7 separate regions of the Homo sapiens genome follow, and regions 2, 3, 4, 5, 6 and 7 are each linked to region 1. Evidence: promoter capture Hi-C in 16 types of primary human blood cells and fetal thymus (Javierre and others, 2016). All regions are on one chromosome and are shown on one strand. Each heading gives the region's core, a stretch centred on a gene start or on the middle of the fragment in contact. The rest is flanking DNA. Distances are from core to core; before and after follow the strand shown. Region 1 holds the start of MAP3K1 (mitogen-activated protein kinase kinase kinase 1). Region 2 overlaps ANKRD55 (ankyrin repeat domain 55). Region 3 has its middle 33 kb from the start of ANKRD55. Region 4 overlaps ANKRD55 (ankyrin repeat domain 55). Region 5 has its middle 16 kb from the start of ANKRD55. Region 6 overlaps ANKRD55 (ankyrin repeat domain 55). Region 7 has its middle 50 kb from the start of ANKRD55.

Region 1 (2,700 bases), core at 89-2,588:
ATGTTTCACAAAGTAAATCTATAGACGTTCCTCCTGGGTTTTGGGAGATTCCCCATCCTAAACAAACCAGCTGGAGGAAAGGAAAGGAAGGAAGAAATAAACGCAACACAGAAGTTCTCCTCAGTTGACAAAAGGTCAAAAATCATTAACGTGTAAATGTTGCTTTTTCCATCCCAAAGCACCTTCTCACGTAGAGTCCAGGGACTAGGAGGACTCACAACGCAGCGATGGGCAGCCAGGCCCTGCAGGAGTGGGGACAGAGGGAACCCGGCCGGTGGCCCGACCCTGCAGGGAAGAAGGACGTGCGGCGAGAAGCATCGGATTCGGGGAGGGCCGGGACCTGGCCGAGGGTGACATTACCGAGCACTTCCTGGCACAGCGCTGGTCCCCTCCCCAAACGCGCTATATGTGGTTCTGTACGGGACTGCCTTTCCCAAAGACAGCCAAGGAAAAACTAAAGATCGACGGGGACACCCGCCTCCCTTCCTCGCCCCAACGGTTTCTCAGAGGCTGTGGGGACTTGGTGAGGGTAGGGGGTAGTTGTCCCAAATCAGCAGCTTCAGGATGTAAGGTATTACAGAAAACTTTGAAGTTTTGTTATCTGTAGCACAGGGACAGGGGTGGGACAATAGAGAAGGAATGTTTTCTTTTCAAAAGAAAACACAAACAAAACTTTATTTTTCTGGTCCGCGGCAGCCTGTCTGCTGAACGTTGACTTGCTTTCGCTTTGCAGCAGGCGACGGTCCCGGGCGCCACCTGCGCGTCGGTGGGAGGCTGGTCCACGCCCGGGTCCCCCGACGCCCACTGCAAAGGGCAGTGGGAATGACAGACTGTAAACCCTCTCGCCTGCGTCCCCTTCAAGCACCAGAAACCCAAGTTGGAACTAATTCTTTCTTTCGGAAGGTGCAACTCCCCTCCCGCGAGCTCCGCGGTGCCGGGCCGAGATTGCCGAGAGGAAGCGGCGCAGCGCTGCCGCCAAGGCTCCTCCTGTCGCCGGTGCGGCCGGGACTACCTGGCGGCGCGGCGCGTGCAGCGCGCAGAGTCCCGGGAGCCCACGCCTCCGCCTCCGCCCCCGCCCCCTCCGCCTCCCAGTCCACCTCGCCCGCCCGCCCTCTCGCCCGGCGGAGAGCACAGCCCACTCCCTCCCACCTGCGGCCGCCGGGCCGCCCTCCACCCACACCTCTGCCGCAGGCCGGACCCAGTGCGCCCGCCCGTCGGTCAGTCCAGGCCAGGCGCCCGGCGGGCCGCGCTCACGCAGTTGGCGCAGGAGGCCTTACGCTGGCGGCGCAGTGCCCGCCCCCTGCGCTCTCCCCGCCCCCTCCCTCCCTCGCAGGGGCCGAGCGAATGTAGCCCGCGAGAGAAAATGGCGGCGGCGGCGGGGAATCGCGCCTCGTCGTCGGGATTCCCGGGCGCCAGGGCTACGAGCCCTGAGGCAGGCGGCGGCGGAGGAGCCCTCAAGGCGAGCAGCGCGCCCGCGGCTGCCGCGGGACTGCTGCGGGAGGCGGGCAGCGGGGGCCGCGAGCGGGCGGACTGGCGGCGGCGGCAGCTGCGCAAAGTGCGGAGTGTGGAGCTGGACCAGCTGCCTGAGCAGCCGCTCTTCCTTGCCGCCTCACCGCCGGCCTCCTCGACTTCCCCGTCGCCGGAGCCCGCGGACGCAGCGGGGAGTGGGACCGGCTTCCAGCCTGTGGCGGTGCCGCCGCCCCACGGAGCCGCGAGCCGCGGCGGCGCCCACCTTACCGAGTCGGTGGCGGCGCCGGACAGCGGCGCCTCGAGTCCCGCAGCGGCCGAGCCCGGGGAGAAGCGGGCGCCCGCCGCCGAGCCGTCTCCTGCAGCGGCCCCCGCCGGGTGAGCAGCACGGCCGGGGTCGCGGCGGGGACTTGGAGAGCGGGCAGAGGGCAATGAATGAACCCCGGGCACCATGCACGGCGTCCCGGGGTTCAGCGCAGCGAGGCTACGCGCCGCTCGCCGGGACCTACGCCCCTGAGCACCCCCCGACCCCTTCGGAGTCGGGCGGCGCCCCGGACCCAGCCTGGGGGACCGGACGGGGACGTGCGGAAGAGTTTGTTATTGTTTGCAGACATGTGACAGGCGTGCGAGCCTCTCTGCGGGGAACCGTTGCGAAAAGGTGTAGGGGGCCACGGCTGGCTTTGTGGGACTCCTGGAATCGGGGCTCTCCGAGGAGCCCGGGGGCGGGGCACGGCCCTGCGGCGGCGCCCCCGGACGGGTGTCCCCGGGGCAAAGGCACTGGGGGGCGAGGCCCGAGCCTGAGGCGGGCGGTGGTCGGAAGAGGGGCGGGGTGGGTGAGAAGCCCGAGGTCGGGTGGGAGACTGAGAGGACCGAAGAGAAAGTAGCAGGTCCCAGCGGCCGTGACAGGCAGAGCCCCTCGGCCCGCCCGGGACTCGAGTCCCTAGGCAGATACCGCGGGCTGGGCCCGGACGCAGGCGGCGCGCCCCCAGCGCCGGCCGCAGGGCTCCAGGAGGACGGCTCGGTAACGCCTGTCAAAGCCGTGCGGCGGGAGGCTGCACACTCGCGGAGGCTTGCAGTCTTTTAGGAAGTGCGGTTTGTCTAATTGCAGCCCCCAAGGGGCTTTGAGTGTTCCTGGGAATGCGAACTGCACTGCTAAGTCACTTGAGTGACTTCTGTTTGGAGTTTGAATTTGGCCTTTGAAGTTTGCATTTGGCGGAGTGGTGTAAGAGCCAG
Region 2 (2,700 bases), core at 1-2,500, 660 kb before region 1:
TAAAAACTCTCACTTTCTCCCTGTAATAATTATAAGAATAATATGTCTGACATTTTTAAAAAAAGACTTTAGAATGGGAGTTTTCATAATTTAAATCAGACAAGAAAAACAATAAAACGAACTTAGGCCATAGAAGTCTAGGAGCCAATTCTAACAAGAACAAACTTATAAAACAAAGCCTTCAGAATAGAAGCCTAAGTTGATAGATTTAATTTTCAACAAAAAAAGAACATCTACATTCTTCTGCACTAAACTGTGAACTCCATCATAGCAGGGATGAAGCCCACATGAGACATGGCAGGTACTGAACAAATATTTGTTGAATAATTAAAATAAAACAATCTTCCTGTTCCAAGGAGATCACCTTGGGAGGCTATACAATTATTCTACTCATTGCTCAAAATACTTTTGGGAGGTTTTTTTTTGGAAATTGCCACTAGAGCAAGAGCTCTATCCATGGATAGAAATAAGGATGTGTGAGTTTCATCAGAGAAATAATTACATCTTTATTTTCACTAACTTCTTTTTTTTTTTTTTTTGAGACGGAGTCTCATTCTGTCACCCAGGCTGGAGTGCAGTGGCACCATCTCGGCTTACTGCAACCTCCACCTCCTGGGTTCAAGAGATTCTCCTGCCTCAGCCTCTCTAGTAGCTGGGACTACAGGTGCGAGCCACCACGCCCGTTGAATTTTTGTATTTTTAGTAGAGATGGGCGTCACCATATTGGCCAGGCTGGTCTTGAACTCCTAGACCTCATGATCCGCCTGCCTTGGCCTCCCAAAGTGCTAGGATTACAGGCGTGAGCCACTGCGCCCGGCCTATTTTCACTAACTTCTAATTGAAATTTAACATCTTTTTCAATTATGAATATAGGCAACAACCCACAGTAGTATAAACAGTACCTGTGACTTTGCCACCTCTATAAATTATAGGTACAGTGCTATTACATTAGTGATTGCAGATCACTACATGTCTCACTACTTCAACAATTGTAGCAGTTTGTGCTCCTACCATCAAATCTTATTTAACGCATTAATAAACAACCTTATATGTTATTATCATAAATTTGGTCTTTAAAATGTTTTCTAGCCTTGGCAACATGGTGAAACTCTGCCTCTACAGAAAAAAAAAAAATTAGTTGGGTATGGTGGTATGCGCCTGTAGTCCCAGCTACTTGGGAGGCTGAGGTGGGAGAGTCACTTGAGCCTGGGAGGCAGAGGTTGCAGTGAACTGAGATTGCACCACTGCACTCTGGCCTCACAGAGTGAGACCCCGTCTCAATAAATAAATAAATAGGCTGGGCGTGGTGCCTCACACCTGTAATCCCAGCCCTTTAGGAGGCCAAGGTGGATGAATCATTTGAGGTCAGGAGTTCGAGACCAGCCTGGCCAACATGGTGAAATCCCGCCTCTACTAAAAAATACAAAAATTAGCCACGTGTGGCGGTGGGTGCCTGTAATCCCAGCTACTCGGTAGGCTGAGGCAGGAGAATCACTTGAACCCTGGAGGTGGAGGTTGCAGCTAGCTGAGATCGCACCACTGCACTCCAGCCTTGGCGACAAAGCGAGACTCCGTCTCAATAAATAAATAAATAAAAGAATGTTTTGATAGCTGTATTTTAATATTTTGATTTCTTTCGCAATCTTATATGTTTCATTTTCTGTAATTTCAGATATTTTTCCTTTTTGATATTTTTTTCCTTTTAAAAAGAAGTTTAAATAGAGATGAGGTTTAGCCATGTTGCCCAGGCTGATCCTGAACTCCTGAGCTCAAGCAATCCTCCTGCCTCGGCCTCCCAAAGGGCTGGGATTACAGGTGTGAGTCACTGCACCCAGCCTAATTTCAGGTATGTTTCTGAGAAGTTATCCATAGGTTTCACAAACACATGAAGATGTGTCCATGTCATAAATATGGGTAAGGACTCCTGCTCTAAAGTCTACAGGACATTTTTAAAAAATTCTAATTGGTATAAAATTTTATTTACTTATTTATATCTCATAAACACCTCTAATACCATGAAAATCTTAGTTTTTTGAGAGTAGGTTTTGGAAATAACAGTCACCTGGAGTCAAGTCTGGGAAATAAATTGGATAGCTGAGTCAACAAAACAAAAGAAGAAAGGGCCATAAAATAAAATAACATGACTTTTTCTTGAATTTAATTCTTTCTTTCTCCCTAGATATAACATATCTAGATATAATATATATCTAGGCTGGGCGTGGTGGCTCACGCCTATAATCCCAGCACTTTGGGAGGCCGAGGCAGGTGGATCACTTGAGGACAGGAGTTCGAGACCAGCCTGGCTAACCTGGTGAAACCCCATCTCCACAAAAAATACAAAAATTAACCGGGCATGGTGGCAGGCACCTGTAATCCCAGCTACTTAAGAGGCTGAGGCAGGAGAATCACTTGAACCCAAGAGGCGGAGGTTGCAGTGAGCCAAAATAGTGCCACTGCATTCTAGCCTGGGTGACACAGTGAGACCACATCTCGGAAAAAAAAAAATCTATATATATATATGTGTGTGTGTATATATATGTATATATACGTGTGTATATATACATATACATACACACGTATATGTGTGTATATACACATATATGTATATATGTATATATGTGTGTGTATATATATATAAAAAATTTTTGTGCCTCACTAAAGCTTTTGTGCAAGCTACTGAACTAGAAACTGGGGATACAA
Region 3 (2,711 bases), core at 58-2,557, 550 kb before region 1:
GGGCTAGAATTTAGCCAGATCCCACTGGTGACACCTCATCTCTGGTTGGAATTTCCTGCCCTCTTCTCAAAGTACATACCTTTGTCACTTCACATGGATAATTGTTGAAGTAATTTACTTATTGTTTGTCCTGGCTTCAATGTTGCCTTCTTCATCTCCAATTTCATTCATTCATTCATTCATTCATTCTTTTTTTTTTTTTTCCAAGACAGAATCTCTCTCTGTTGCCCAGGCTGGAGTGCAGTGGCATGATCTCGGCTCACTGCAACCTCTGCCTCCTGGGTTCAAGTGATTCTCCTGCCTCAGCCTCCCTAGTAGCTGGGACCACAGGTGCCACCGCCACGCCTGTTGAGTTTTTGTATTTTTAGTAGAAAGCCATGTTGGCCAGGCTTGTCTCGAGCTCCTGGCCTTAAGTGATCCTCCTGCCTCTGTGTCCCAAAGTGCTGGGATTACAGGCGTGAGCCACCACACCCGGCCCTTTCTTTCTCTTTTTAAATATAATTTTGTCATCTTTCTTCTAGACAATAGATTATCCCTTTAAAACATTTTTCTTGTAAGACATTTACTTTTGTTAAATGGTGAAAAGTTAACAGTTTCTTATCTAGATTTATAAAGATTTTTTAAAAATTTCAACTTTTATTTTAGATACAGGGGTACATATGCAGGTTTATTACATAAATGGACTGCACCCAGGTCATGAGCATAGTACCCAATAGGTAGTTTTTCACCTCATTCCCTCCCACCCTCTCCCATCTAGTAGTCTGCAGTGTCTGTTGTTCCCATGTTTATGTCTATGTATGTTCAATATTTAGCTCCCACTTTTAAGTGAGAACATGCAGCATTTGGTTTTCTGTTCCTGCATTAACTCACTTAGGATTATGGCCTCCAGCTCCATCCATGTTGCTGCAAAGGACATGATTCATTCTTGTTTATGTCTGTGGAATATTCCATGGTGTATATGTTCTACATTTTCTTTATTCAGTCCATCATTTATTGGCACCTAAGTCAATTCCATGGCTTTGCTATTGTGAGTAGCATGGCAATGAACATATGAGTGCATGTGTCTTTTTGGTATAATAATTTATTTTCCTTTGGGCATATACCCAATAATGGGATTTCTGGGTCGAATGGTAGCTCTGTTTTAAATTCTCTGAGAAGTCGCCAAACTGCTTTCCACAGTGGCTGATCTAATTTACATTCCCACCAACAGTGTATAGGTATTCCGTTTTCTCTGCAGCCTTGCCAGCATCTGTTTTTTTTTTTTTTTTTACTTTTTAGTAATGGTCATTCTGAATGGCGTGAGATAGTGTCTCATGGTGGTTTTGATTTCCATTTCTCTGATGATTAGTGATGATGAACTTTTTTTTTTTTTTGAGATGGAGTCTCGCTTTGTTGCTCAAGCTGGAATGCAGTGACGCGATCTTAGCTCACTGCAACCTCCACCTCCCAGGTAGGTGGGTTCAAATGATTCTCCCACCTTAGCCGCCCAAGTAGCTGGGATTACAAGTGCGCCACCACACCCTGCTAATTTTTTTTTTGTATTTTTAGTAGAGATGGGGTTCCACCATGTTGACTAGGCTGGTCTCTAACTCCTGACCTCAAGTGATCCTCCTGCCCAGGCCTCTCAAAGTGCTGGGATGACAGGCATGAGCCATCGCACCCAGCCAGATGAGCATTTCTTCATATGTTTGTTGGCCACTTGCATGTCTTCTGAGAAGTGTCTGTTTAGGTCCTCTGCCCATTTTTTAATGAGGTTATTTGGTTTTTGCTTGTTGATTAGTTTAATTTCCTTATAGAGTCTGGATATTAGACTTTTTTCAGATGCATAGTTTGCAAATATTTTCTCCCGTTCCCTAGATTGTCTATTTACTCTGTTGATAGTTTCTTTTGCTGTGTAAAAGCTCTTTAGTTTAATTAGGTTCCACTCATCAACTTTGTTTTGGTTTCAATTGTTTTTATTTCCCTCTCATTTCTGAAGGCTTTTTTCAAGGAGGCCCTTCCATAATCCTAACTTCCATGTGCTTCTGTCACCTGACCACCATTATCCACCCACTAACATCCATGCAAAAAGGGTGTGCAGTGGCAGCAGGGTAACTCTTGGGACCCCAATGAGCTTTGTGCATTTTCACTTCTCAGCCTGTGTGTGCTCTCCCTCTCCTTCTCCCTCCTTCCTTGGAAGGTCTTCTCCATCCTCTCTTTACCCCAAACCACATCTACATCTCCAGGATCCCTCTTCCGTGAAGGTCTCATCCATCCCATGCTGATCTCCCCACTTTGAACTCCCTTTGCTCTTATGAGGCATTACAGATTGCTGGATATTTAAAGGCATGGTCTTTGGTGTCGGACAGCCTGGAATAAAATCCTGGCAAATGATTTAAACTTTATGTGGGTTGGTTTCCTTACCCCTAAAGTGGCAATAATTATAGTACCTACTTAATAAAGTTGTTTTGAGGATTCAACAACATGATTTATATAAAGCATTTAGCACAGTCGTTGGAACAGAGTAAACACTCAATACACTGCCACTATTACTATCCTGATCAGTATTATCAGTAAAGAGATTACTTGATACTTCTTTATTGCTTGTATCGGATTGGGCCTCATCTTCCTAGGTAGATAGCTTCTTATATTCAGGGACTGTGTCCCATGTTTCTTTGCTGCAACCCTTGCATTCATTGCCTTATATACTCCCTGAACATGGCAAGTACACC
Region 4 (2,700 bases), core at 198-2,697, 580 kb before region 1:
CAGCCATGAGCCAGAGTCAGTGCTAGGCCAGGGATTGGCCATGTGCAGGAAGCTTCCTATTGCCCTGTTGTATGGATGGAGAACACCTGGGCCTCAGTCCCCTCTGTTGCTATTTAGTGGGGTGTTGTTATTATTATTAGGAAGGACCCAACTTTGAACCTCTCTGTGCTTTAGTTCCCTCATCTGAAATGTGGAAGAGGGGTAGGTTGGATGACTGGTTCTGCATCTTTGCTGTCCATGAGAACTTCCCAAGGAGTGTTGGTTGGGCCAACCACTGCAGTTAAACTGGAATCTCCCTGGGTGGGATGCAAGCATCAGCATTTTCAGAATTTCTTCAGATGATTCTTTTTTCTTTTTTTTGAGACAGAGTCTTGCTCTGTCGCCAGGTTGGAGTGCAGTGGCCTGATCTCAGCTCACCGCAACCTCCACCTCCCAGGTTCAAGCGATTTCCTGCCTCAGCCTCCCGAGTAGCTGGGACTACAGGCGTGTGTCACCATGCCCAGCTAATTTTTGTATTTTCAGTAGAGACAGGCTTTCACCCTGTTGGCCAGGATGGTCTCGATCTCTTGACCTTGGGATCTGCCCACCTCGGCCTCCCAAAGCACTGGGATTACAGGCGTGAGCCTTGCGCCCGGCCCAGATGATTCTTAAGTACAGCCAATGTGAGAACCAACAGGTTACTTGATTGCTAAGATTCTTCCAGCTGCAATGTCTTCTGTCCCCATCTGCATGTAAAGACAGTACTGCTAGGGTTCACTTATCCAGACAGTAACGATTCATGAAAAACCCTCAACTAAAGCCCCATGTTCAACTTTTCCCGAGAAAGTCACCTCCCTTTGGTTTGTCCAACAATATAGTATTTAAAATCTGTATAATGGTCTCAACCCTCATGGTCTTTCATGCTTTTAAGAAAGAGGAAGGATTAATGGGTAATAAAACTATTCAGGAATGGCTTAGTTAATTATTATTCTAGGTCTTGCTATAAATGGTATCCTAGGGTTCTGAAAAAAATAATTAATGTAATTTAGTCATCCAGCACTAAGCCCTCATTTGATCTGAGGACTGCTACATTCAGGCTGAAGGTAGAGAGATGAGTAGTCTTTTGCACTTCAGAAACTCCCAGTCCAAGGTGATAATAACAACAGCAATAATAATAACAGCTGCAGCCAAAATGGGAAAATACTTATTGAATATCAGGCATTGCTAACAGGTGCTTTTTATATGTTATTATTTTAGATCCTCACAACAACCCTGCTAGGTAAGCATCATTTCCTTCATTGTATTCCTGGGGAAACTAAGGCCCAGAGAGGTTAGGTAACTTGCCAAGGTCACACAGCTAAGAAGTAGATGATCTGCCATTCTGATCTACGTCTATAAGATTTAAAATCCCATGCTCTTTCCATCATATGATAAAACCTCTAGAAAGAGAGAAAGGATTGAGAAATAGAGATAAAGATGGCAGGGAGAGGGTTAACTTCCATGGGAGAGAATCCGGCCCAGGTGGAGGAATTGCTGTGAATTGCTCACATGAAAGGTGTTAAAAGAAAATCAGTCTTGTAATTCTGTATCTTAACTATGTTTGGGGCTCAATCCTGTTAGAAGGTACAGCACTGGAACATGTAAATTCATTATGAAGAGCTAGTTCTTCTTCAGTCAGTCCCAGCTCCCTCCAATTAGTCTTCAAAAATAAACCCATTGTATGTTTCGTGGCTTAGCAACATCATTTTTCAGCCAGTGTGAGCTCTTTGGTTCTTAGCAGATTTTCACTTTTACTGACTGCCATCAGTGATATAAAATGTACCAGGAGGAGAGGATGGTGGTGGGCACAGCTGTGACAACGCCTTTCTCTATGCTGTTCAGATCCAAACACGGTATGAGCCGGCACGTTCTGAAGGCGCGCACACACACACACACACACACACACACACACACACACACACACATACACATACACAAACACTATTCCAAATGAGCTAAGACCTGGAGAACACACTATACACATATATACATTAGCTAACTCAGGAATCTAAATATAAATTTATTTTTGGAGAAACCCCCTGGGCTAAAATAATTCACCCACAAAGCCAGATGTAGCTTGAGGGGTAATAAACATGCTATGGCCTAGAGCAGGAAAAGGGAAAAAAGAATGAAGCAGTACATTTTCTTAATGAGGCTTTTTCAAACCACCATTTCATGTTGTAGCCAAAACAGATAAAATCACCAAAGGAACTTAGGATCTTGAAGAATATTCAGAGACTGTAGAAAGTGGTTTAAATAATAGATATTTAAGAAAAGATTCTAAAAAATATTTATTATGTTTATAAAATGGAAATTTCATGTTTATACTAAAAAAAGATTTACTATTACACATAAGTATTACACGAAGATGTATATAAACACATTGCATATGCAAAATGTATACACATAGACCACATGGCCAAATATGTGATATTATAAGGATAAGTTGATCTCACAGCAACATTTTGATGTGGAAAATTACCTCCACTCCAGAAATTATAAGTAAGGAAGATATACCCTGGCATTGCAAATAATAGCATAGGGATATGTCATTACACAACCTTGGATGAGATAACATATCAACCCGACATAAATACAGGCAACATCTATTCCTGAAAGGAATAAAAAAATGCTTACGAAGATACAGCAATGAGATACTGGGCTAATCGAATGACAAAAAAA
Region 5 (2,700 bases), core at 86-2,585, 570 kb before region 1:
GTTACCAGATTATGTTGGTAGTTGGTCCATCTTTTGTGCAGCAAGGGGCTAGAATATTTCTCAATAACTAAATAAAAAAAAAATACACTTAAGGGCTTCTCCATGGAGGTTCACTACTGAACAGTAAAAACTCATAAATATAAACTAAGCTCCCAAAGAGCCTCAGAAAATCAATCTCTAACAGAGGTTAGCCAGAGGTGGACACTGGTTAATATCTGGCAACTCTGACCACCTTGAATCCCCGTGTCTATTTTCAGGTAAAAATGGAGTCACCTAATGGCTAGATGTTATCAGGGCCATACATGTCAGAGCTTCCTCAGAATTCTGCCCCATTCTAGTTCTACACACACAGAAAAATTACAGAACATATCTAAGTATTTCTCCAGTATGTATACTGGAGATAATCATGATACCCATTCTGAAAGGTTGTTGTGAGGATAAACTGGGGTAACAAGGCCGTGGTGTGCTAGTGGGTCCAGAATTGGTTCCTTCTGGGTTCTTGGTCTCGCTGACTTCAAGAATGAAGCCGCGGACCCTCATGGTGAGTGTTAAAGGTCTTAAAGATGTTGTGTCCAGAGTTTGTTCCTTCAGATGTTCAGACGTGTCCAGAGTTTCTTCCTTCTGGCGGCTTTGTGGTCTCGCTGACTTCAGGAGTGAAGCCACAGACCTACGCAGTGAGTGTTACAGATTCATTCCTCCCGCTGGGTTTGTGGTCTCACTGGCTTCATGAGTGAAGCTGCAGACCTTCCAGGTGAGTGTTACAGCCCGAAAAGCCAGTGTGGACCCAAAGTGTGAACAGCAGCAAGATTTACTGGGAAGAAACAAAGAACAAGACTGCCACACCTTGGAAGCGAACCCAACAGCATTGCAGCTGCTGGATCAGGTGACCTGCTTTATTCCCTTATTTGGCCCCACCCACATCCTGCTGATTGGTCCATTTTACAGAGAGCTGATTGGTCCATTTTACAGAGTGCTGATTGGTCCGTTTGACAGAGTGCTGATTGGTCTCTTTTGACAGAGTGCTGATTGGTGCGTTTACAAGCCTTTAGGTAGACACAGAGTGCTGATTGGTGCATTTACAATCCTTTAGCTAGACAGAAAAATTCTCCAAGTCCCCACCCGACCCAGAAGCCTAGCCTGCTTTACCTCTCACTAGCACTGTCTAGAGCTGTCTAGAGAACTTTCTTATCAAAAAATGTTGTAATTGGGTTTTTCTCAAGAAATGGTAAATTGGGGTCTCTCAAACTGGATGCTACATGAGGTATGACCATATTCTGTCATTATCCCATGATTGGTCAATGCTTGGCTCTTTCACCTTGCCAAGGAAACCACTGAGTGTAATTTCAGAGTTTTGGGAGTTCATTGCTCCATCCGTTTTGATCTCCATCACAAGAAGCAGGACTCCAAGCTGTACAGTTTAAGGATGGATCCCAAGATATTATTGTCTCTCCAAAGTTTGTACTATAATGAATATGCCAAAATTAGCATGGGGAGGAACACAATGTACGTATATAGGTAATATAAAATGAGCCTGTGACCCAGTTACAGCTTTCATACATTTTTCTAAATAATCGTAGCTGGTAGATTAATTGGAAGATGGCAGCTCCCGTAGCAAGTAGGGGGGTAATTTCCCTCTGGTGCATTTGTGCTGAAAACATGGGTTTACTATTCTGAACGTAAGGGACATTAACAATCAGCCTAGCCATTCCAACACCAATAGATCTTTCATTCTTCTTTAACTGTTCTTTTCTATTCCTCTACATTTCTCTGTTTCCTCCCCTGACTCCTCTTCAATGCCTTCTGGTGAAAAGAAAGAAGTGTCTTTTCTTTTTTGAGAATGCTAGGCTGCAATTAGTGTGCCTCCTTTGACACAAAAACTTTCCCCAGAGAGGTAGATTTACAACCTACAGTCCACTAAGCACATGGGCGTTGGAGCTTGACTGGCTAAATTCTAATCCCAGTTTTATAACGTGATGCTATCTCAGTTACGCCTTATTTCCCTCATCTGTAAGATGAGAATATCTTAGTGCCTTCTTCATAAAGTTTTTGAGTGAAGTAAATTGACTTAAATATGTCAAGTTCTTAGGGCAATGCCTTACATCGTAATTCTGATAGACATTTACCTTTAAGATTTCCATCAGTTATTCTATCTCTTTGTTGTTGTCGTTTGTTTTTATTGAGATGAAGTCTTGTTCTGTTGCCCAGGCTGGAGTGCAGTGGCGTGATCTTGGCTCACTGCAACGTGCGCCTCCCGGATTCAAGCAATTCTCCTGCCTCAGCCTCCTGAGTAGCTGGGATTACAGGCACTCACCACCACACCTGGCTAATTTTTGTATTTAGTAGAGGTGGGGTTTCACCATGCCACATTGGTCAGGCTGGTCTCGAACTCCTGACCTCAGGTGATCCACCCGCCTTGGCCTCCCAAAGTGATGGGATTATAGGCATGAGCCACTGCGCCTGGCCAAGTTATTCCATCTCTTTTGCAACTTCATCTTTTTCCCTCCTCAAGAAACTTTTCCTTAGCCTACACATATATCCTTCTTCAGGCCTTAAAAAAATAAAAATGAAACAAAACTGTGATGATGTGATGTTTCTTCAAACAGATTTATTCTTTGTTTCTTGACATGATTTTGGGAATAAAAAGGCTACATTTGCTATTTCCTTTCCAGACCACCCAATCTCTGCTTGATCCAATGTAAT
Region 6 (2,700 bases), core at 25-2,524, 620 kb before region 1:
ATATAACAGTATTAATCAATTCATCAGAGCAGAGCCCTCGTGCTCCAATCACCTCTAAAAAGCCTACCTCTTAATACTGGTACAATGACAGTTAAATTTCAACACAACTTTCAGTGGGAACATTCAAGTCATAGCAACTATTCTTTCCCTATTGAATGGTCTTGGCACTCTTGTGGAAAATCAGTTGACCATAAATGTATGGGATTATTTCTGGACTTTCAGTTCTATTCTACTGATCTATATGTCTGTCTGTATGCCAGTACCACACTGTTTTCATTACTGTAGCTTTGTAGTAAGTTTTGAAATCAGGAAGTGTGAAACCTCCAACTGTTCTTTTTGAAGATTGTTTTGGCTATTTTGGGGTCTCCTGAAATTCAATATGTATATTAGGATGATTTTTCTATTTCTGTAGAAAACATCATTGGGATTTTGACAGAGATTATATTGAATCTGTAGATTGCTTTGTGTAGTACTGGCATCTTAATAATATTAAGTTTTCTAATTCATGGAACATAAAATGTCTTTCCATTTACTGGTGTTTTCTTTAATTTCTTTCAGCAATGCTTTGTAGTTTTCAGTGTACCAGTCTTTTACCTCCTTGGTTATTCCTAAGTATTTTATTCTTTCTCATACTATTGTAAATAGAGTTGTTTTTCGAAGGGCTTTTATGCAAACAATTTTATGGTTAAATTGCTGTGTGAGACTCCAGTAGTTAGAAATAGCAGTGGGTGAGAGTGACAGAGAGACAGGTATTCTAATTATTATTAGAGCTTATAAAAATGGACCGAGTCACCTCAAGAAGTAGTGAGCTTCCTGTCACTGAAGATGACCTCTCTTGGCTAGATGACCACCAAACCTGTTTAGAAGGAATTTAGACATAAAGTGAAGCACAGTGTAGGGGGAAAAGGAAGACGTGTGAAGCAGAATAGCATGTACTTCAGAATTCCTTCTGGCCCTGCGATGTACACTAAACCACAGCACAACAAGGAAATAGGAAATGAAGGAGCTTCCCTAGAAGTTATTTAGAAAGAGCCAATCTAAGTTGCGGTCAATGCAAATAATTGGGCACAAACTTAGAAACTGTACAGAGAATTTCTATAGAAATGAGGAAGCATGATGTAGAAATAACAAGTACAAAGAAAAGTATGACTGATGGTCCTAATGGAATCTAAAATGAGAGCAGGAAAGTTTTTTTCTACTGACAATCAGAAACCCACTTATTAAGATGTCTAAAAGATCTACATAAACAAACAATACCTCAGTCCTTCCTTGTCTCCTTCCTATTGCTCCTCTCTCTCTCTCTCTCTTTCTCATCTATTTGTCATCTATGTTTCTTTCCACACTGCTTACATGAGGAGCATGTTTTGAATGGTCTTGCCTCTCTCACTGCTTTAAACAGATAGACTTCTGTACGGGTGCATAAAGAGAGATTCCAGAATACACACAGGGTGAGAGACTCTGAGGGTAGAAAATGGAAGAAACATGAAGAAATAGGAAGAAAGAAGCATGTGAAGACACGCAGATTATATTTTATTTAAAACTCTGCCGCTGCTGCCGGAGACTGATCTGGGCGGCAGTTGGCGGCCTCGGCTAGCGGCCAGGAGCCACTTCTGCGGGTGCCCAGAGAAGCAAAAGTCGCCGGTCCCATGTCGTCGCCCTCTCTGCCCCCCAGGAGGGGCAAGAGGGAGCCACGGCCGATGACAGAAATACACTTTCCGAGATGGCCTCTAAATCCTGGCTGAATTTTTTAACCTTCCTCTATGGATCGGCAATAGGGTTTATTTTATTTTCTCAGCTACTTAGTATTTTGTTGGGAGAAGAGGGTGACACCCAGACTAATGTTCTTCATAATGATCCTCATGCGAGGCATTCAGATGATAATGGACAGAATCATCTAGGAGGACAAATGAACTTCAATGCAGATTCTAGCCAACGTAAAGATGAGAACACAGACATCGCTGAAAACCTCTATTAGCAAGTTAAAATTCTTTGCTGGGTTATGACAGGCTCTCAAAACCTACAGAAAAAGGCCAAACATGTCAAAGCTACATGGGCCCAGCGTTGTCTAAAAGTATTTTTTATGAGTTCAGAAGAAAATAAAGACTTCCGTGCTGTGGGATTGAAAACCAAAGCAGGCAGAGATGAGCTATACTGGAAAACAATTAAACCTTTTCAGTATGTTCATGAACATCATTTAGAAGATGCTGATTGGTTTTTGAAAGCAGATGATGACACATATTTCATACTAGATAATTTGAGATGGCTTCTTTCAAAATATGATTCTAAAGAACACATTTATTTTAGGAGAAGATTTAAGCCCTTTGTAAAACAGGGCTGTATGAGTGGAGGAGCAGGATATTTACTAAGCAAAGAAAGCCTTGAAAAGATTTCTTGATGCATTTAAAACAGACAAGTGTCACATAGTTCCTCCACTGAAGACTTAGCACTGGGGAGATGCATGGAAATTATAAATGTAGAAGCAGGAGATTCCAGAGATCCCACTGGAAAAGAAACTTTTCATCCCTTTGTTTCAGAACACCATTTAATAAAGGTTATCTACCTAGAACCTTTTGGTACTGGAATTACAACTATTATCCTCCTGTAGAGGGTCCTGGTTGCTGTTCCGATCTTGCAGTTTCTTTTCACTATGTTGATTTTACAACTGTGTATGTGTTAGAATACCTCGTTTATCATCTTCAT
Region 7 (2,700 bases), core at 129-2,628, 530 kb before region 1:
TGTGTGTATTTTGTGTTTTGGGGCATGTGTGTGTGTGTATGTGAGAGAGAGAGAGAGAAAGTGAGAGAGAGAGAGAGAGAGAGAATAAATCCAGCAAATTAATAAAAGCATCAATCTAAGGCCACTGGTCCTGAATGCTAGGGCAAGATGAGAAAGCAGCTCAGGAAGTGATTATAATGAACAGAGAGACTCTGACCTGGAAGAAATCTTGTTACTCAGGATCAGGAAAATGTTAAACTCTTCTCAGCTAGTGTTTTTTTTATTAAAACATGCTGCATATAATTAATCACTCATAAATATACATTAAATAAGATGTCTGTAAAAGACACACATATAAAACAAGGTCATGTATTGTTTGGTTTATGAAATGTTGTGACCAGAGGCTGGAAGGAGCCTGGCTCTTCCCAGGAGCAGTGATTCAGTGTTCACTAATTCATTGTCTGCAGAGACTTTATAGACTAGACCATAACTAGGCTGAATAACAAGAATTGACTGTTTCCTGTCTTGTTTACTGTTGTCTCTCCCACTAGACAGTGTGGTGTACAAGGACAGGCGTTATGTCTGTTTTCCTCACCCCTAGATCCCTGCAACCCCTGGCACATAGTAAGTGCCAATAAGTGATTTTTTGTTTGAATGAATGAATGAAAGAGGAGGAGAATCATGAAAGTGTAGGGTCATAGAAGCCAGGAGAGTTTTTAGTACTAACGAGTCATTAACAACGTAGACAAAGCAGAGGGATTGGTGAGGGAAGGAGGGGAAGTGCCCATTTGCTGGCATATGGGAGCCTGGGAGACTGGTTTCAGCTGAGGAAGGAGGGGAAGTGCCCATTAGCTGGCATATGGGAGCCTGGGAGACTGGTTTCAGCTGAGGAAGGAGGGCAGAAGCCAGGCTGTAGCAACTGAGGAATGGACAATGAGGAAGAAGAAAGAGTGTAGGCTACATTTTTGAAAGTTTGGGTGAGAAGGGGAGGAAAGGGATTTGATAGAAGCTAGAGGAGCACCTGATCAAGGGGTGGGTGTTTCAGACCTGGAGAAGTGCTCTCATAATTATAAGCTTTGGGGGCAAGCATCCCAGAGGGAGGAAGAGGCTGGGCGTGTAGCACCTGGAAAGAAAGGAATGTGGCTCAGGGCAAAGGTTAACTCTGAACAAGAAGAGGAAGATCTAAGCTGCAGCAGCTAGGGAAAAGGAAAAATGGATGAGTGTGAATGTAAATGTACTTACAGTGAAGGGGGCAGGAAGGTGAAACGGGTCCTTCCTGATCACCTTGGTGTCTCCTGGTGCATTAGGAGGCCAGGTGTGATGTAAGAGAAGGAGAGAGAGGTCTTGTGAAGACTGAGCTGAGGCTTGGTGAAGGTGAGGGAGTTCACGCTGGATGAATCAAAGGATTATTGGATAGATTGATGCTGGAGGTCCAGGATGCTGTGTTGGCCTTCGCAGCCAGGGTGAAAGGAGCAGATGAGGCTGGTTATGGTGCTGCTGCCCAGCCTGTATGTTTTGCTGGGCAGGTGCAGTAGGAGGATTGTGGTGTGAGGGAGCTGAAGAATCTGTGAGAGAAGAGGACTTGTGATCAACAATGAAGTTCAGGCTGGAGCAGGCTGATGACTAGGAGAAGACAGAGGATCAGGGGCTTGTGGTGTCTCTGAGGTAGAAGAGCAGATATGGAGGGATGAGGAGATGAGATGGGGGGTCAGGGTTTCATGAGGGAAAGCTTCAGGTGATGATCAAGCCCAGAGTGTCACCATGCCTGTGGGTGGGCAGCTGAAGGTCAGTAGAGTTCCTGGTATTCAGGAGATCCAGGGATTGCATGGATCCAGTCATCCAGCTAGTCTTGCATTGATTTCGCATCGGTTTAGTCTTGACTGATTTTTGCATTGATTAGATCTTGCACTGAATAAGCTTTTTACTGTGGTTTTTCAGGCCTGAGGCAGGTGACAGTGAAACAACCTGTTGAGGTTGTTTCAGTGAGATTGTTAAGCATCATATGTCCAAGGGAAATATTAATTTCACCAAGTCAGACATATGTAAGACAGCCATCCTTTCCTCTATATATCACACAAAGCTAAATGGATCTATTATTTGAAAGAAACTTGAAAGAAAATTTTGCATATCTACAAGGAGTGTGGTATGAAGGAAAAAAGATTAACATATCCAAATAATGGTCCTGGCTCTGTCACTAACTAACCTTGTGATCCTGGGCAGGTTTAACACTCTGGGCCCCAGTTTACAGACACCTACTGCCTCCAGAACAGTTCTTCCCAGTCTGACTTCTTAACCCATCGTATTCAGGCTTTCATCCCCAGCACAACCTACCTGCCCATTGAGAACTGTTAGTGACTCCAAATGGTCCATCCCGGTGGCTTCTTACCTGGTCTTGATCTCCTTGACTTCAGAGAGAGTGGCACTTGGCATTGTGGGCCATCGCCTCTGCAGATTCTTCTTCTTCTTTTTTTTTTTTTTTTGAGACGGAGTCTTGCTCTGTCTCCCAGGCTGGAGTGCAGTGGCGCAATCTCTCACTGCAAGCTCCGCCTCCCGGGTTCACGCCATTCTCCTGCCTCAGCCTCCCGAGTAGCTGGGACTACAGGCGCCCGCCACCACGCCCGGCTAATTTTTTGTATTTTTAGTAGGGACAGGGTTTCACCGCGTTAACCAGGACGGTCTCGATCTGCTGACCTCATGATCCGCCCGCCTCGACCTCCCAAA

What was found. Contacts are between HindIII fragments. The CHiCAGO score rates a contact against its expected background, and 5 or more counts as called.
Region 2: a fragment that was not itself captured here is called in contact with the fragment with the promoter of MAP3K1 in region 1 in 1 of 17 cell types (neutrophils); the score reaches 5.3 in neutrophils.
Region 3: a contact is called between a fragment that was not itself captured here and the fragment with the promoter of MAP3K1 in region 1, in 17 of 17 cell types (total B cells, naive B cells, activated CD4 T cells and 14 more). The highest score is 32.0, in total B cells.
Region 4: a fragment that was not itself captured here is called in contact with the fragment with the promoter of MAP3K1 in region 1 in 1 of 17 cell types (naive CD4 T cells); the score reaches 5.7 in naive CD4 T cells.
Region 5: a contact is called between a fragment that was not itself captured here and the fragment with the promoter of MAP3K1 in region 1, in 12 of 17 cell types (naive B cells, neutrophils, total B cells and 9 more). The highest score is 11.5, in naive B cells.
Region 6: a fragment that was not itself captured here is called in contact with the fragment with the promoter of MAP3K1 in region 1 in 1 of 17 cell types (naive CD4 T cells); the score reaches 5.1 in naive CD4 T cells.
Region 7: a fragment that was not itself captured here is called in contact with the fragment with the promoter of MAP3K1 in region 1 in 16 of 17 cell types (naive B cells, total B cells, erythroblasts and 13 more); the score reaches 30.3 in naive B cells.

What each region holds. Positions count from the first base shown.
Region 1 is chr5:56,814,211-56,816,910 of GRCh38, forward strand. It overlaps MAP3K1 (mitogen-activated protein kinase kinase kinase 1), which reads left to right and starts at 1,339. Exons shown (of 20, transcript NM_005921.2): 1 at 1,339-1,845. The coding sequence starts at 1,364. RefSeq lists enhancers at 567-696, 2,148-2,700 and silencers at 1,057-1,826, 1,897-2,016, 2,197-2,436. The HindIII fragment of the contact is 8,983 bases long and covers 1-2,700 here.
Region 2 is chr5:56,149,321-56,152,020 of GRCh38, forward strand. The region is part of intron 6 of ANKRD55 (ankyrin repeat domain 55); the gene reads right to left. Among named protein-coding and RNA genes, the nearest start is that of ANKRD55, 83 kb to the right of the region's middle. The HindIII fragment of the contact is 2,817 bases long and covers 1-2,659 here.
Region 3 is chr5:56,265,295-56,268,005 of GRCh38, forward strand. No RefSeq gene overlaps it. Among named protein-coding and RNA genes, the nearest start is that of ANKRD55, 33 kb to the left of the region's middle. The HindIII fragment of the contact is 3,064 bases long and covers 1-2,711 here.
Region 4 is chr5:56,229,755-56,232,454 of GRCh38, forward strand. All of the region lies in intron 2 of ANKRD55 (ankyrin repeat domain 55), which reads right to left. Among named protein-coding and RNA genes, the nearest start is that of ANKRD55, 2.2 kb to the right of the region's middle. The HindIII fragment of the contact is 2,795 bases long and covers 51-2,700 here.
Region 5 is chr5:56,248,330-56,251,029 of GRCh38, forward strand. No RefSeq gene overlaps it. Among named protein-coding and RNA genes, the nearest start is that of ANKRD55, 16 kb to the left of the region's middle. The HindIII fragment of the contact is 5,147 bases long and covers 1-2,700 here.
Region 6 is chr5:56,190,828-56,193,527 of GRCh38, forward strand. All of the region lies in intron 2 of ANKRD55 (ankyrin repeat domain 55), which reads right to left. It also overlaps the pseudogene C1GALT1P2. Among named protein-coding and RNA genes, the nearest start is that of ANKRD55, 41 kb to the right of the region's middle. The HindIII fragment of the contact is 3,374 bases long and covers 1-2,700 here.
Region 7 is chr5:56,282,026-56,284,725 of GRCh38, forward strand. No RefSeq gene overlaps it. Among named protein-coding and RNA genes, the nearest start is that of ANKRD55, 50 kb to the left of the region's middle. The HindIII fragment of the contact is 655 bases long and covers 1,052-1,706 here.